2 separate regions of the Homo sapiens genome follow, and region 2 is linked to region 1. Evidence: promoter capture Hi-C in human tissues and cell types (Jung and others, 2019). All regions are on one chromosome and are shown on one strand. Each heading gives the region's core, a stretch centred on a gene start or on the middle of the fragment in contact. The rest is flanking DNA. Distances are from core to core; before and after follow the strand shown.

The links. Contacts are between HindIII fragments. The study calls those that stand out against the background at their distance.
Region 2: a contact is called between a fragment that was not itself captured here and the fragment with the promoter of STAB1 in region 1, in 2 of the 25 tissues and cell types used here (aorta and liver).

Annotation. Positions count from the first base shown.
Region 1 is chr3:52,493,464-52,498,638 of GRCh38, forward strand. STAB1 (stabilin 1) reads left to right here and starts at 1,875. Exons shown (of 69, transcript NM_015136.3): 1 at 1,875-2,028. The coding sequence starts at 1,951. The HindIII fragment of the contact is 11,021 bases long and covers 1-5,175 here.
Region 2 is chr3:52,652,064-52,656,886 of GRCh38, forward strand. The region is part of intron 6 of PBRM1 (polybromo 1); the gene reads right to left. Among named protein-coding and RNA genes, the nearest start is that of PBRM1, 31 kb to the right of the region's middle. The HindIII fragment of the contact is 3,551 bases long and covers 1-3,323 here.

The sequences.
Region 1 (5,175 bases), core at 625-3,124:
GGAGGACAGAGAGATCCCAGAGTCTGAGGTGGCTGGTGGGGGCCGGGGCATCTCACCAAGGTGGCCCTTGAATGGCAGCAGGGGAGGTCTGTGGGGAGGTGGACCCAGGTGGTGGACAGTGGAGGGAGGGGCACATACCCATCTGTGTCTGTCTTCATGTCCCTGAAACATGAGGCTCATGGGCCCCTCCCTGAGGGTTGCTTCAGGGAGCCTGCTGAGGTAGGACCTGGGATTTTGGTAGCCAACCCCATGCCACACTCTTCCCCAACCCCATTCCTGCTGCCAGAGCAGGGCCTATGAGCCCCACATAACTCATCCTGGCCCAGCCAGGAGCCTCAGTCCCCAGGACCTTGGGGCAGCCAGGCCAGGCAGGGCTGTGGAGAGGTGGGTGGCGTGGCCAGCCTGGGTCCCAGGCCTGCTTCTGTTCCCCCGTTTCCCTTGGTGCCAGCAGAGTGGGGGTCCTGCCTGGAGGACCCTTCACCCCCAGGAAGACTGTGGGTGTGGGGAATGTGGGGAGGGTTTCCCCTTGCAACCCCCATCCCAGCCAGATCTCAGGCCTGCCTGAAGGCCCCTCCAAACTGATGGGAGTGGAGGTGTGCTGGGGAGGAGAAACTTTCCCCAACCTGGCCTTTACCAAAGCATTTACAGATGGCCACCGGGCTCTGGCCCACTCCTGTCTCCCCAACTGTTACGCCGTCTGCAGTTGGGGGTAGTGACAACTGGAGGCAAGGCCCACCACGTGCAGCCCTGGCACGCAGAGGCCCTCAGCCTGGGCCCACTGCACCTCTTGGGGGTGCTGGCTGTGCAGGCAGTGGTGGCTTCAGACAGTAGCCCTGGGATTGGATATGAAAACTGATTACCTCAGACAAGCTACCCAGCCCCTCTGAGCCTCAGTTTCCCCACCAGTAACAGAGGGATCATAAAAGTAGCCACCTCCATTCATTTATTCCTTCTGCACACGTGTATTGAGCATCCACTGTGCGAATCAGCCAGACAGCGCCCCTACTCTTCCACAGCCAATGTTCCAGGGGAGACAAATGAAACAAGCCAATGTCAGCTGGTGGCTGGTGCTGCCAGGTGAACCAGGTGCAGGGCCACCTGCAGGCTGAGACCAGGGAGGCGCTCTGAAGTGGTGGCCCTTGACCTGAGACCACCTGTGAGAAGGAGCCAGAGTGTGACAATCTAGGGTAGCAGCACATGCCGGGAGAGCTCACTGAAGGAGCAGAGAGGCCTGCGCGGCTGGAGCAGACCTGTCTGGGGAGAGTTCAGAGAGACCAGCCAGCTGGAGAGGGGTTTGGAGGTGCTGCAGCAAGCTGGCTGAGCATGGGCTGCTGAGTGGAGGGCAGATAGGGAGGCAGGGAGGGTGGATGGGGGTTGGCGGGCAGGACCAGCGGCTCAGGAGTGGCTGGGGCTAGTGAGGGGATGTGGGTCTGGTGGGCTAGCAGGGTGCCTGTAGCGAGTCAGAGCCCCATGAGCGCCCTGGAGTTGGAAAGGTGGAGGCAGGAACAGACAGACCCATTCAGGGGCTGCCCTGCCTTCCGCCGACCAGCACCCCAGGAGCCTCTGAATGAAACACACTGGGCTCGCAGGCGGGGGACTCGTTCACGTGTGCCTTTGGATTTGCTTCAGAACCTCTGATAGAGCCCAGGTCCCGGGGCTCATGGTGGCCTGGACTTCCAGGTTGTGATGCCAGGAGGGTCCCAGCCGGGAAGCCCCGAGCAGGGCTCAGGCCGCCCATGGGGGGTCAGTGGCCAGCACCTTCCCTTCCGCCTGCAGGCTGCTGATATGCAGGAGGAAATCCTGGCGGGTTCCTGTGGGGGTGAGCTGGCGGGGCCTCCGGGCTGCTTTTAAGGCCACTGCCCGCCCCGTCCCGCCTGCCTGTGCTGTGCCTGCCTCCTAGAGCTCATTCCCTACGCCCCGACTCTGTCCTGGACAGCGTGCCCACCAGCCATGGCGGGGCCCCGGGGCCTCCTCCCACTCTGCCTCCTGGCCTTCTGCCTGGCAGGCTTCAGCTTCGTCAGGGGGCAGGTAAGTGTGAGCCAGTCGCAGGGGCACACGGCGTCTGGGCCCTGCCGGCCAGCGGTGGGAACAGGGAGGGACTGACATGGAGGGGCAGGGGCCTGGGGAGAAACCGCAGCTGGCGCCTGTCTGGCCTCTTAGCAGGCCTGGGGGCTGGCTATTGTGCCCACCTCCCCAGTCTGAGGTCTGCGTCCAGCCACCCAGGGTTCAGGGGTGTGTCAGCCCACCCTCCTCTGACTATGCGGGGCCGGGGCTCCCCAGCGTGCAGCTGAAGTGTACAGAGGCAGGCCTGTCCTGCCCTTCTGGCCCAGACGGAGGCCCAGGTCTTATGTGGCCCTCACCTGGGGGTTGAAGATGTGATCACCTCCAACCCCCGAGGACTACAGATTCACGTGGGGCAAGTGTGTGCACATGTGTGTGCCTGTGTCCAGCCCCAAGAGTACCGGGAAGCAGAATGAGTCACTCACCCTTAGTGTCCGGGGTTATGAGCAGCTGGCAAGGACACACTTCAGCCTCAGAGCTGCCACAGAGCAGCCACAGCCCCGGGCAGGTCCCCTTGAATCCTCACAGCCTCGGGGCAACTCCTCCTGTCCTCCTCGTGAGGAACCCGAAGCCCTAGGATGATGGGGACAGGCCATTCCCACTCTAAAGCCATGCTCCAAACCCCTGCCTGTGATGGCCATCCGTGTGTGCTGGCGAGCAGACAGGGTCCTGGTATGCAGCCACAGCCAGCCCCTCGGTCAGGTCCCTGTGACAGGCTCCTGGCTGCAGGTCTGCTCAGGCCCCATGGTAGGGGCCTCTGGGAGCTTCTGGAAGAGCCTCCCACCCTGGTGATGGGGGTAGTCTCTCTCCTGTGAGGCTGAGCGTGTCTGCCTCCTGGAGCAGCAACCACTATCCCCATGGCACAGATGGCCAGACTAAAGTCCAGAGCGGGGAGGACTTGCCCAGGATCCCACAGGCAGTCCAGCCAGGGGCCTAGGCCCCCTGCCACCATCAGGCGCTTTCTCTTGGATGCCTGTGGTCCCTCAGAGAGGCAGCAGGGAGAAGGGCCTCACCAGCTTCAGGACCAGGCCAGGGCTGGGGACAGGAAGATATGAGGCTGAGAAGGCGACAGTGATGGGGGAAGAGCCAAGGGTTCCAGGGCTGTGCTGAGAGCCCTGCAGGTAAGCTCCTGCCCTCCCCTTAACTCAGTTTCCCCCTGTGTACCATGCAAGGGAATTTCAAAGGCCTCCGCCACCTCCTCATGCTCTGGGCAGTGAGGACAGAGGTCAGTGAGGGGCCTCAGATTCGAGTTTTTTCCTTGTCAGAGACCTATGGCTCTGACCACTCCTTGTGGATGGGGCTGCAGCAGTGCTGGCCACTCTAACACAGCTACGTGGCCTCTATCCCAGCACCCTGCATAGCCGAGAGCCACTGTAAGTGCAGTTGGCCCTCTGTATCTGTGCACCCTGTACTTGGGTTCAACCAACCCTGGATTGAAAATATTCAGGAAATAAAATGGCATCTCTACTGAACATGTTCAGACTTTTTTTCTTTTGAGGTGGAGTCTCGCTCTGTAGCCCAGGCTGGAGGGCAGTGGCGTGATCTCGGCTCAGTGAAATCTCCACCTCCCAGGTTCAAGCGATTCTCCTGCCTCAGCCTCCCGAGAACTGGGATTACAGGCGCCCGCCACCACACCCAGCTAATTTTTGAATTTTTAGTTTCACCATGTTGACCAGGCTGGTCTGTAACTCCTGACCTCAGGTAATCCACCTGCCTCAGCCTCCCAAAGTGCTGGGATTACAGGTGTGAGCCACCGTGCCCAACCCCATGTTCAGACTTTTCTATGTACATAGCATTTACATTGTATTCGGTATTATAAGTCGTCTAAGGATGACTTAAGGTATACGGGAGGATGTGCATAGATTATATGTGAATTCGATGCCTTTTTTTTTTTTTTTTTTTTTTTGAGATGGTGTCTCTCTCTGTTGTCCGGGCTGCATTACAGTGGCGCTATCTCAGCTCACTGCAACCTCTGCCTCCCAGCTTCAAGGGATTCTCCTGACTCAGCCTCCCAAGTAGCTGGGACTACAGGCGCACACCACCACACTTGGCTAATTTTTGTGTTTTTATTAGAGACAGGGTTTCTCCATGTTAGCCAGCCTGGTCTCGAACTCCTGATGTCAGGTGATCTACCCTCTTCGGCCTCCCAAAGTGCTGGGATTACAGATGTGAGCCACCACTCCCAGCCTCGATTCCATTTTATACCAGGGACTTGAGCATCCACAGATTTTGGTATCTGAGGAGGGTCCTGGAACCAGTCCCCCATAGACACCAAGGAACAACTATATTAGGAGTGGAAGCTCTGAGGGGAAAGGATATCCCGGGTAACCTGTTCAGTAAGGGCAGCAACAGGACTGGAGTGAAGATGGGTTTGGGCAGCGAGGCAGGAAGGCTTTCCTGGAAGGCCCTTAGCACTTGCCCATTCAGCAGCTTTTCACCGAGGGCACGTGGCTAGGTGTGTGCAGTGGAGCCTGTGGCGGGAGAGGAGCACGGTCCAGAACCCAGCCCTGCACCCTCCCTGATCTGACCAAAGGTAGGGGGAAGCAGTTTGGGGTTCCTTCCTCTCTGACAGGGTTTAGATTCTGGGCTCTCAGCCTTAAAAAGTCCCCATGAACCAGGTCCCAGCTTGGGAGAATTTCATCCACCTTCTCACCAAAGACTTCACACTTCGTGTCTCCTCAACTTCCCCCAGCAGCAGCTCTGTGGGAAGCAGACATTGCAAAATCAGGTCTGCGGGGGGTGTGGGGTTGGGGGGGAGACAGCACCCGCTCTGGCTCAGTCCCGAGGTGCCCCCAGGAAGGAGGGAATCTGACTCAGCACTCAGGCCGTGATCCAGCCTCACTCCACCCAGCTGGACCAACGGCAAGATGTGGGCTCAGACCGCCGATGCTCCTTCCAGGCCATGGGGCGGAGGCAGGGCCCCTCGGCTGTGGTCTCGGAGAAGCACTGATGTGGCAGCAGGCTTACCATTCATCAGCATTTCACACACGTTTACAAACACCCAGGTCCTGTGAGTGAGTGTCCACACCAGGCCCCAAAGCTCCCGCTTCCTTCTGGGCCCTAACTCACCCATCGCTCCATCTAGCCCTGACTGTCTCAGAGTGCGACCAGCAC
Region 2 (4,823 bases), core at 298-2,797, 160 kb after region 1:
TAGCATAAAATTTAATGTTTTAAAAAATTCTAGGCTGGGGCCGGGTGCGGTAGCTCACGCCTGCAATCCCAGCACTTTGGGAGGCCGAGGCAGGTGGATCACCTGAGGTCAGGAGTTCAAGACCAGCCTGGCCAACATGGTGAAACCCCATCTCTACTAAAAATACAAAAATTAGCCGGGCGTGGTGGCAGGCACCTGTAATCCCAGCTACTCAGGAGGCTGAGGCAAGAGGATCGCTTGAACCTGGGAGGCAGAGATTGCAGTGAGCTGAGATCGTGCCATTATACTCCAGCCTGGGGGACAAGAAAGAGACTTCGTCTCAAAAAAAAAAAAAAAAATTCTAGGCAGGGCACGGTGGCTCACACCTGTAATCCCAGAACTTTGGGAGGCCGAGGCGGGTGGTTCACGAGGTCAGGAGATTGAGACCATCCTGGCTAACGTGGTGAAACCCTGTCTCTACTAAAAATAGAAAAAAAATTGGCTGGGCATGGTGGCATACAACTATAGTCCCAGCTACTCTGGAGGCTGAGGGAGGAGAATCGCTTGAACCCAAGAGGCAGAGGTTGCAGCGAGCCGAGATCATGCCACTGCACTCCAGCCTGGGCGGCACAGCAAGACTCCATCTCAAAAAAAAAATAAATAATCTAAATTCGGCAAGGCGCGGTGGCTCACACCTGTAATCCCAGCACTTCGGGATGCTGAGGCAGCTGGATCACTTGAGGTCAGAAGTTCAAGACCAACCTGGCCAACATAGCGAAACCCTGTCTCCATTAAAAATACAAAAATTAGCCAGGCATGGTGGTGTGCGCCTGTAATCCCAGCTACTCAGGAGGCTAAGGCAGGGCAATCACTTGAGCGCAGGAGATGGAGGTTGCAGTGAGCCGAGATCACGCCATTGTACTCCAGCCTGTGCAACAGAGCAAGATTCCGTCTCAAAAAACAAACAAAAATTCTAAATTCACAGAATTATACAATTTTTCATTTAAGGTCCCAAGATATCTATGCCTAGAAATAAAGTAGAAGAAATGCTCTTTAGGAGTTTGTTACAAGCTCTTTTAATTTTGCAATCTAAATAACGTTATTATATAATATTCACATAAACTTTCATAAGGATCTGTAAGAAGTCAGGTTGCAAAATTTGTTAGCTTCATGTTTAACTTGATGCTTCTGCTTATTTCAGTCAAAGTAAGTTTTTTCAAAACAAAATACCTTTTGAATGAAACTTTGTTAAAGAAATGAAGCACGGCTGGGCATGGTGGCTCGCGCCTGTAATCCCAGCACTTTGGGAGGCTGAGGTGGGTGGATCACCTGAAGTCAGGAGTTCGAGACTAGCCTGGCCAACATGGTGAAACCCCATCTCTACTAAAAATTCAAAATTAGCCTGGTATGTTGGTGCATGCATGTAATCCCAGCTACTTGGGAGGCTGAGGCAGGAGAATCGCTTGAACCTGGGAGGTGGAGGTTGCAGTGAGCTGAGATTGCTCCATTGCACTCCAGCCTGGGCAAGAAGAGCAGAATTCTGTCTCAAAAAAAAAAAAAAGAAAGAAAGAAATGAAGCAAAATTCTGGTCAGGCATGGTGGCTCATGCCTGTAATCCCTGCACTTCGGGAGGCCGAGACGGGCAGATCACGAGGTCAGGAGTTCAAGACCAGCCTGGCCAATATGGTGAAACCCCGTCTCTACTAAAAATACAAAAATTAGCTGGGTGTGGTGGCGGGTGCCTGTAATTCCAGCTACTCAGGAGGCTGAGGCAGGAGAATCGCTTGAACCTGGGAGGCAGAGGTTGCAGTGGGCTGAGATCACGCCACTGCACTCCAGCCTGGGTGACAGAGCAAGACTGTCTTGAAAAAAGAAAAGAAATGAAGCAAAATTATTAGCAACTTCTGATTTATCAAATACTAGGTCATCCCAAGAAATTGAACATGTTGAGGAATGTCCTTGAAGCTTTCACAACAACCTAGAATCACTCACTGCACTCAGGCTTTCCTACAGATTTTCTTCCTTGGAGGAAATAACTGAAGTTGCCCAAATATCAAAAGTTGGTCTTATCAGATGGGAGAGGTTCAGGGGAAGTCAGATTGTGCTCTCCCAACTCTTCCCACCTGTTCAAACCCTACTGAAGCCCACGCAGCAACAACAAAAGCAGAAAGCCACAGCCTTCACTCAGTTACTGGGCTGAACAGATTATCTCAGTGTTGTTTTATCTCATCTGTCCCCTAAGCTTACCACTACTTTCTTAACCCTACTCCTTCCTTTACTTGGATGAATCTCCATTGCTGCCCCTTCTCTTCACCAGTTCTACTTCTGAGAGAAAGTTCAGAGGACAAATTATGGCAAGGCCACCCAGCATGGAGTACAAAGTAATTCAAAGTCATCCAATCCCACAAATTCCCAATCTATCTCTCCCATGCAGCCAGCTTGCTTGGGACGGACTTACTAAGGAAAGGTGAAAACTGTCCTGCCCCTTCAGCTGTCAATCCTTGTTGTCTTTCAAACTGTCACACCCTGAGAGACCAATAGAAACCTGCTTTTCCCAACCAGCTCCTTCAAGGTGACCTTGAAGGGGGAATGGGGGGAACTAATTATTGATGTTTCATTGCCCCATATCACTGTTGTTGATTTGACCATCACTGATTATCTCCTGCAGGGTAAGAATAAATCTTGAGCGAAGACAGTACTTCTATTTTGTGTGTATGTGTGCATGTGTGAATGAGAGTTGACAGAGAGCGAGAGAGAGAAAAAGAGACGGGGTCTCTTTCTGTTGCCTAGGTTGGAGTGAAGTGGCATGATCACAGCTCACTGCGGCCTTGAACTCCTAGGCTCAAGTGATCCTCCAAACTCAGCCCCACCAAACAGCTGTGACTACAGGTGCACACCACCATGACTAGCTAATTAAAAAAATTTTTTTTGTAGAGACAGAGTCTCAGCTATGTTGGCCTCTCAAAGCTCTGGGATTACAGGTGTGGGTCACTACACCTATCCTGTACTTCTTTTATAATTTTTTTTACTGTAATAAAATAAATTTCATGTAGTAACATGAAATTTGCCATTTTTAAGTGTACAGTTCTGTGGCATGAGGTACACTCACACTGCTGTGCAACTATCACTGACATCCACCTCCAGAACTTTTTAATCTTGCAAAATGGAAACTCTGTACATATTAAACAACTCCCCATTCCCTCCAGCCCCTGGCAACCACCATTCTAACTTTATGTCTCTAAGATTTTGAGTATTCTAGGTACCTCATATAAGAAATCATACAGTATTTGTCCTTTTGTGACTGGCTCATTTTGCTTAAAATAATGTCTTTAGAGTTCATCCATGTAGGATGTTTCAGAATTTCCTTCCTTTTTAACGCCAAATAATATGCCACTGTATGTATATGTCACATATACATTCATTCACTGATGGACACCTGAGTTGCTTCCATTTTTAGCTATTGTGAATAATGCTGCTATGAATATGGGTATACAAATATCTCTTCAATACCCTGCTTTCACTTTCTTTGGAGTATATATCTAAAGTGGAACTGCTGGATCATATGGTAATTCCATGTTTAATTCTCTAGAGAATCATCATACTGTTTTCTCCTTTTCTTAAAGTTTTAAGTCATATGACCAATATTAATAATTACATCTTTCTAGTAAGATTCACACATAGGACAGCAGTGGTCAGTTGCTTTATTTCTAATGTTGTAACTATCCTATAGCTAGTCAAGACACACCTTTAAATAACTATAGTCTTGCCAATGACTGATGAGGAAAGCTGCATGCTACTCATCAGTCAACAAGCATCTTGCATATCTATGACCACCCAGCATGGGGTACAAAGTAATCCAAAGTCATCCAATCCTTCGGATCGGGTTCCAGTTATAGACAGTAATACAAAGGTAAATTACAGCACAGTCACTGTCCTCAAGAAATTCAGGGAGTAGAAAAGAAGGCAGACAGAAAAGTAAATGATCACAATAGGGCTAAGTGCTACCATGGAGTACTTCTGAAAGTATATCCTTACCTAGAAATATGAGAATGCTGAGGCCATGAAAATGTTTGCAGTTTCATAGGCTAATGTGAGTCAAATCTATATGTTAATTATCTTTTGGGTGTAAAGGCATAAAGAATTCTGATACTTTTTAAAGGTCTTGCTTGTCTAGAAAACCTCTTCTTTTTTCAGGCAGAAGAGTACCTAATTCGTTTTTCTTTTTTCAGCATCACCAGGAGATCAAAGAGAATTAAAAGGAGGAAGAACTCATTTATCTTCCTCTTACCCTGTCCCCTACACAAAGAGAAAGTTTCCACTCTTAAAAATGCAAGGTTTAGGCCGGGTGTAGTAGCTCATGTCTGTAATCCCAGCACTCTGGGAGGCTGAGGCAGGTGCATCACTTGAGGTCAGGAGTTTAAGATCAGCCTGGCCAACATGGTGAAAGCTTGTCTCTACTAAAAAATACAAAAATTAGCCAGGTGTGGTGGTGCATGCCTGTAATCCCAGCTACTTGGGAGGCTGAGGCAGGACAATCGCTTGAACTCGGGAGGCGGAGGTTGCAGTGAGCCAAGATCACGCCATTGCACTTCAGCCTGGGTGACAGAACGAGACTCCGTCTCAACAATTAATAAATAAATAAAAAAGATTTAGTTAAAGTGCTTATTTTATCAATGAAGAATTACCAATCTTGGAAACAACCCAATGTCCATTGACAGATGAATGAGTAAACAAAATGTAGTAAGGCACGGTGGCACAAGCCTGTATACCCAGCTACTTGGGAGGCTGAGGTGGGAGAATCGCTTGAGCCCAGAAGTTTGAGGTCAGCCTAGGCAACACAGCAA